Regions from separate parts of the Homo sapiens genome. Here region 1 is linked to region 2. The links are contacts of gene promoters, found by promoter capture Hi-C in blood cells and fetal thymus (Javierre and others, 2016). All regions are on one chromosome and are shown on one strand. The core of a region is centred on a gene start or on the middle of the fragment in contact, and the rest is flanking DNA. Distances in the headings are between cores, read along the strand shown.

Region 1 (3,620 bases), core at 602-3,101, about 33 Mb before region 2:
TAGAAAATTTCTATCTACTCTGATGTCAGCAGCTGTTCCTACAACTAAAATTAGCATTTTAATAATTTCAACAGAAGTTTAAAAACCCCAACAAGATAGATCATTTTGTTTCTAAATCTCTTCATGTAGGCAAAAATGAATCTTTATAGATGGAGAAACTGACATTTATTAAAGCAACTATGTGCTAGGTGCTGTCTTAACAGTGCATACACGAACATGATTCTTCCCCTTTTTGGAGGCTAAGTCTGATGGGAAAGACTATTAACCAAAATAATAATCATGAGACAATGTGATAAACACTGTGAAGAAGTGATAGAATCACAGAAGACGGGTGCTGAAGGGGGCGGGGCTCATGCAGGAGGTAAGCAGGAACAGATTACTGTTCGGTGAAAGTCTTCCAGAGAAAGCGGCTAAACTGGGTAAGGGTGTGTGCCACAGGAGGCCTTAAAAAAGATGACTGAAACGCACTGAGATTTGCAAGGGTGAATACTAAACCACTTGTGGGAAACGTAGTGACTGACTAAAGTGGCAAGGAAGGTGGGACCAGAGATTCAAGGACTGGGAACGATGCCAAATCCAAGTGACAAATCTAATTTATATTTTAGAAACATTACTGCCTTGTGACAAACTGTAAACATCTTTTGAGCAGAGACTTATTAGCAATGCTCACACACATGTTGATAATATCTCCTACTCAACCAAAATAGTGAAATACTGTTTTCGCCTCATCTCATCTCGCTTACTCCTCATTCAAACTAATGACACAGCCCTTCTTTCTATGCCTTAGGTTCATTCCTGCCTGAAGACCTTTGCTCCTGTTATTCTCTTTATTTAGAACAATCTGCTTACGCATGGTTGGTCCCTTGTCATTTAGGTATCACAAAGTACAATTTATAAGTGGTTAGCATGTTAACGGGGGAACAGACCAGGAAGGATAAATTAATTTCATTTAACCATTCTTTCATCAAACTTCTTAAGGGATGGTAAGAGAAAACTGATGCTTTTAAATTCATCTTTGTCTCTTCCAACATCCACAACTAATGTGAAGTAGTAAAGCGGCAAGAAGAGCAGTAGGAAGGTTTTAAAAGCCTGTTTAACTCTCAGCCCTTCAACCCACGAGTTTGGCTCATTCAAGTCCACTTTTCAGTAATAGGAACCTGAAGACAATCCCAGAGCAGCAGCTGGAATTTTTCTCCACTATAGACAACTGTTTCCCACTCACCACTAGAGGAAATTCTTAGAAAAAGGACTTGAACAGACTTTACTTGCTATCCATCCAGTTCCGCAGCGACTCCGTAAGCACAAAGTTTGCCTTAGCGAAAGGTAACTGAGAAAGAACCAGACCAGAGTGCCAGCCTCCCCCGGCTTTACTCCGCGAAAGCCGAGGCTAGACCCAACGACTTGCGGAAACCGTCCCTTTCTCCCTACCAACTTATCTTACCTCTCTGTAAGTCCAACTTGGTTTCGCGGACATAATTGTCCGGATTCCGGCTCAGCATCTTCACCTTCATCTCGGTTGCTCTTCCGGCCGGACTCCACGAGGTGTCCGCTAGGAGTTCCGCCCACCGCCACCTCCTCCCACAGGCGACTTCCGCTTTTCCCAGACTACTTCCAGTCACGTGACTCGCGGAGCGGCGGCCTGCTGGCTCAACTGGATCCTGCGCCGCTCCGTAGTTTTGCCGGCAAACGTTAGCAAGGGGCGGTTCTTTAGCTGTGCAGTCGCTTCCGCGTCCGTGGGCTGGAGCATTTGTGGGCGAGGCAGGGCGGAGACTCGGGAGAGGCTGGGACCTCCCCTCCATCGCGCTTTCCGCCGGCGTGACGTAGTGTCTGTGCCCCGTTCTTGCCCCCTCAGTACTAGAGTCTCCGGCTTCGCTCACGCGCCTTGGGCATAAGAGTCCTCTCGTTGGTCCCGGAGGTGGGGTTGCGCTCACAAGGGGCGACCGTCGCCACGGTGGCGGCCACTGCATCGCGTCCCACCTCCGCGGCCCTGGGCGCCGTGGTGTCGACGGGCCCCGAGCCTATGACGGGCCAGGGCCAGTCGGCGTCCGGGTCGTCGGCGTGGAGCACGGTATTCCGCCACGTCCGGTATGAGAACCTGATAGCGGGCGTGAGCGGCGGCGTCTTATCCAACCTTGCGCTGCATCCGCTCGACCTCGTGAAGATCCGCTTCGCCGGTAAGAGCCCGCCCAGACACCGGGCTGCATCCTCTCACTGTCAGCCCGAACTGGATCTCCTCCGTCTTTTCCGTTCTAGGGGGAGGAGGAGCGTTGAAGGGAGCGTTGCTGTCCGCGTTGGCTAACCTGAACTAGATTTGAGGAAATGGTGCTTGGTGGAGGGGTCGGCCTGCGATCTTCCCCGCTCCTCAAGACTAAGAGAGGGGGCATGTATGTAGAGAAGTCTGAGAAAAAACATCCTCATTGGCAGAGAAGATGGGATTCAAAGCCTGATTTGTAAAATAAAGAAGGGATTGTCACATTTTAAGGTTTAGTCCTCACACGTGCAAATCATTCACTCTTGGAGGAACTTTGAAATCTTAGCATACCCACGTGGTTTGGCAGCTCGACTAGTATTGGGATAGGGCGTAATCTTCAGCGAATGGTTGGGAGTAGATTTAGAATAGAATTCTCTTGAATGTTTGTTTTTTGGCATTTGTAGAATGGTACAAGTTTCTGTGAAAAAATAGCTAGAATCGAAATACTATTTTAAGTGTATTAGATGAATTGAGTATGTTGAAATTAACAAAGCATTTTAGAAGTTAAACTCAACACTAAAGTCTGGAAAGAGTTTCAAAGATGATCTTTGATAACTGAAATTGCAGAAAATAGTTTCCAAATAAAGTTATTACAAGTTAAGTTCAGCCTTGAGAATTAAATCTACAGAAGTTGTTTATTTTAGCATTAGGCAATTCAGTTCACTTGATTTATATTCTCTTAATATTTGTAGACTGCTGTATGGGCTACAGAAGTATCTAATAAAGTTCTTGCCTTCAGGGAACTTAGAATTTAATTGTAGGCGTTAGACTTAGTCATATAAAAGGTAATTCTAGACAACATAAAATCAAGAAATACAAAAACAAAATATAAATACAGGTAAACCGTTAAGAAAATTCTACATTACTGATGGCCATGTGTATCTTTAAGGTTCAGTGGAAGATTGGGGCTTGGGGTTTCCCATAGAAGGGCTAATATTTTGACAGCTGGAGAGGAAGCAAGAACCCGTTCTATGAAGGAAAATCATCGAAAATTATGGAGTATTATCTCTAGAAAAAACACCACAAAGACATATAATGTCATGAAGTTTTATGATGCATGCACAAATAATTATGTTATTGACAAGTAATCTTTATCGAGTATTTACTAGGAGCAAGGCAGTGAACTATGCTTTAGATGCATTATCTCATTTATTATCCTGTAAATCTATTCACAGGAACAATCCTGTGAGTTTATGATATCTGCTATACAGATGAGGATAACAGAAGTTGACTAACTTGCCCAAGTCACAAGTTTGTAAAGATGGATCTGGGATTTAAACCCAGGTAATCTAACTCTGGAACCCTCTGGCACTTAACCCCTCACCGTATTACCTCTATAAGTACCTGTTATACAATGGTTTGAACATTG
Region 2 (3,805 bases), core at 72-2,571:
AATCATCTCATTTAATCACTAAAATGAGCAATAGTTATCCCCACTTTATAGATGATATCCACAGGGCTTGCTCCCTCACCTCCTGCAGGTCTTCAGGCAAGTATAAGTGCCTCGCACTTTCCTATTCCCCTTGCTTTATTTTTCTCCTGGTTGCTCAACTCAATTTAACATCTGTTTCGCTTTTGAAATCTTGTTTAAAGATTCTCTCCCACACTAGAATGATAAGTCCCTAGGAATAATTTAATTTGTATTTCAGTTCTGTATCCCCAGTGCCCAGGACACAGTCAACCCTCAGTAAGTACATAAATGAATACATTTTTAAAAATGAGGAAATCGGGTCCCATAGAGATTAAGTAACTTGTCCTTGATCGTACAAGTAATAAGTGGCAGAATTCTGATTTAACAACCCACATTCTTAAACCACTAAGTGGTTACACCAGAGTTGTAATATTGTAGGCAAGAGGCAAGTACCCTCGGACTGCGGTAGTGGGGAAGCGGGGTGATAGGTCTGCCTCGAATTGGTGATGACTGGATGTGGAAGGGCGCTGAAAGGGCTCAATCTAGCATGACTTTGGTTTCTACATTTGGCTTATGGGTAAACAGGAGAGCAATTCTTCAGGAAAAAGAATACAAAGGACTCCAGGTTTGGGCAAAACGATAAGAGGAGGACGTGTCTTAATCCACGATCCTTTTTAACTCTTTTACTATTTCCCTTAGATTACTAAAACATGTTGTTAATTTGAATATATGTGAAGCCAGTAAACCCAAACTGATCCCTTCGTCTTCAGTCTGAGGCCAGTGGGGGATAGGGGTGGGGATGGGGACGGGGATGGGGGTGGGGACGGAGAGGCAGACCAGAATAGGGTCAGCTCTTTTTTTTTTTTTAAGTTAGTCCAAACTTACCAAGAGTAGAAATAAGTCCCCAGCAGTGCTTAACTCTGAGGTAATTTTTAAGGCAGATGCTAAAACTGGAGAATACACCGTACCCTTGTGGAGTCAGGTAGTATTCGTAGTTTTAGATTATCCTGACGGTGTTAGTCACTTGTAGAAGTGACAATGTGCAACAGGCCACTGACACCCAATCCCTGGATGGCCAGGAGGGCAGGAGGGCACCCGGCCGCGGCCTCAGGCTGCTGAGCAGGCGCAGGAAGCTCGCGCCTCAAACGACTCCCAAACCCGGGCCCGGCGCGAAGCAGGGAAGCGCCGCTCACATTCCTGCACGCTCGCCCGGCCGCGGGCCAGCGGCCTCCGGTCCCCAGGTGGCGCTGTGGGCTCGCGGAGGCGGCCGCGGCACCAGGGAGCGTCGTCTCCCTGGTGCGCATGCTCGCCCCCGCTGCGGGCTAGCTGTTGTGTTTTTTTTTTTCCCCCGGGCGGCCCGGCGGCTGCGTACTGGCTGTGGGATGGGAAGTGAAGCCCCAGCGAGCGGCTGCAGCGGGGCCGTGAGGAGCAGCCAGCGGGAGGCGGCGGCGAGTCGGTGAGCAGCTGGGAAGAGCAGAACCGGGGCGGAGCACCTGCAGGCGCGGGCGGCGGCCCCACCATGGCGATTCGCAAGAAAAGCACCAAGAGCCCCCCAGTGCTGAGCCACGAATTCGTCCTGCAGAATCACGCGGACATCGTCTCCTGTGTGGCGATGGTCTTCCTGCTGGGGCTCATGTTTGAGGTGAGCCCGCCCCGAGTCCCAACCGCCTGCCCCGCCACCTCCAGCCCGGGCCCGGGCTCCAGATGCCAGCCCCGGCTTCTCCGCCCAGGACGCGGGGGGCTCGGGCCCGGGGTGGGTGCAGACCCCCAGTCCCTGAGGTGCAGGCCTTCCCTGCCCTGCCCCACGTCGGCGGCAGCTCCCCGGCGGCCGGCCCGGAGATGCAAAGTCCCGGTGGGCCTCATCGCGGCCCGCAGGGGGTGGGGACCGCCGCGTCGCCCCCTTCCTGACCCGCCGCCGCCCCCTCCCGCAGGCTGCGCGGCGCAGTTCCTGGTTCCCGCGAAGGGTTACGTGGCAGCCGGCGAGGGGCCTGCGGGCGGGGGCGGCCCCTGCGCTGCCGAGCTGGCTCGGGGCGGGTGGGCGGACTTGGGGGGACTGCCAGCCTCGGCCGCGGTGAGCGTCAGCCCCGCGAGGGCCGGGGAAGGCCGAGGCCCGGCCCCCGGGTCTGAGGAGTGCCGGCCTGGAGACCACAGGCCCCGAGTGACAGGGGAGCCCCCGGTAGCTCCGAGATTGGGGTGAGCGAGAAACCGGAGTCAGGCATCTGCTTTCGACTTGAAGGGCGGTGGCCGCCGGGCACCGGCGCAGTGGAGGCGCGCCAGATTGTTTTCATTTTTGTCTTTTAAACTGATATTATTACCAGTTAACGAACTTTTTGCCCTGACGCTTTAAAGAAACAAGGTCTGATGGATAAATCGAGGTTCTGAACAGCGGTGCCAAGGAATCGAGTAATTTTGTTTCTTGAAGTAGGAGAGGATGGGAATGTCAGGAGTGTGTAAATTCTCTTCCCACGTATCTAGTATTTTGATGACTTATTTAACAGCTGTTGAATGTGGATGATAAACTTTGCAAGGTGAACGAGTAACATCCTACGTTTTTCCCCTCGCTCCCCAATACACACGCTCATTCCTTTGCTTTTTTCCCTTTTTAATTTTTCTCTGGAGCCTTTATGTCTCAGTAAATATACAAATTATTTTGCTCCTGCCTTGTTTTGTCTCCTCTCTCCTGCATGTAACAAGTGAGAGTAGAGATTTTGGAGTATTTTTACGAGTCTGTATTTCCAGAGTCTAGGATAGTGCCTGGGACATAGGAGTGCTTAAAAAAAGATGAGCGACGTTAAGAATCCTTGAGAAAACCTAATGGAATGATATTACCAGTGACCAAAAGGTGAATACATTTTCTTTTTAATGGAGCATATTTGTTTTTTTTTTTAATTTTAAAATTAAATAATATTTTAACCTTATTTTCGCCTCTCATCAAATGGGCTTTTCTGGATCTAGATACAGATATTATTTACTCCTGATTGTGTCATGCATGTTTGAAACCACTGCTAAGGAGGTAGCAGGTATAGTTAAAGGGTAGGTAGAAGGAAACTAACATTCTCAAGCTTTAAGTCTGGGCTGTGCCACCTACCTACTGGGTGACCCAAGTCTGAGCCTCAATTTTTCTGCTCTTTATCAGGAAATAATATCACCTGTACTGTTCTCCTCACAGCCATTTTTTGCAAGTATCAGATGATATGGTGTGAAGGTAAATACAGTGCTAGGCCTGGTGCTCTGGCTTATGCCTGTAAACATCCCAACACTTTGGGAGGCCAAGGCAGGAGAATCACTGGAGCCCAGGAGTTCGAGACCAGCCTAGGCAACATAGGGAGACCCTGTCTCTACAAATGATTTTTTAAAAATTAGCCAGGAGTGATAGATAGCACGCACCTGTGGTCTCAGCTGGGCGGCTGAGGTGGGATAATTACTTGAGCCCAGGAGGTGGAGGCTGCGGTGAGCCAAGGTTTCACCACTGCACTCCAGCCTGAAGGACAGAGCAAGAAGACCCTGTCTCAAAAAAAACCCAATGTTAAACATTTGTATTCACTTTCTGAATTTGATACTTGCATGTACTTTCTGCTTTGACCTTAAAGTAGTACTTTAATATATGTAGTATATTCAATTTTCTGTAACTTGTCATAAACCATCTCCACATGGTAAGAATTCCTGACTTTAAAAACATATTTTAGGGGTACTGTGACCTGCAAGGTATATTTGCAGTGCTTTGAATGAAATGAAATATAAATCAGAAATTCTGACACATAGTATAACTTTGATTTTATATAAACTA

Evidence for each region. Contacts are between HindIII fragments. The CHiCAGO score rates a contact against its expected background, and 5 or more counts as called.
Region 1: the fragment with the promoter of SLC25A32 here is called in contact with the fragment with the promoter of TRAM1 in region 2 in 1 of 17 cell types (activated CD4 T cells); the score reaches 6.3 in activated CD4 T cells.

What each region holds. Positions count from the first base shown.
Region 1 is chr8:103,413,338-103,416,957 of GRCh38, reverse strand. It overlaps SLC25A32 (solute carrier family 25 member 32), which reads left to right and starts at 1,851. Exons shown (of 7, transcript NM_030780.5): 1 at 1,851-2,174. The coding sequence starts at 2,021. DCAF13 (DDB1 and CUL4 associated factor 13) reads right to left here and starts at 1,572. Exons shown (of 11, transcript NM_015420.7): 1 at 1,442-1,572. The coding sequence starts at 1,511. RefSeq lists enhancers at 1,491-1,830, 1,564-2,185. The HindIII fragment of the contact is 9,226 bases long and covers 1-3,620 here.
Region 2 is chr8:70,605,932-70,609,736 of GRCh38, reverse strand. TRAM1 (translocation associated membrane protein 1) reads left to right here and starts at 1,321. Exons shown (of 11, transcript NM_014294.6): 1 at 1,321-1,660. The coding sequence starts at 1,538. It overlaps LACTB2-AS1 (LACTB2 antisense RNA 1), which reads right to left and starts at 1,160. Exons shown (of 4, transcript NR_038881.1): 1 at 904-1,160. RefSeq lists silencers at 1,155-1,324, 1,405-1,454, 1,515-1,574, 1,625-1,804, 1,825-2,274. The HindIII fragment of the contact is 3,860 bases long and covers 1-3,082 here.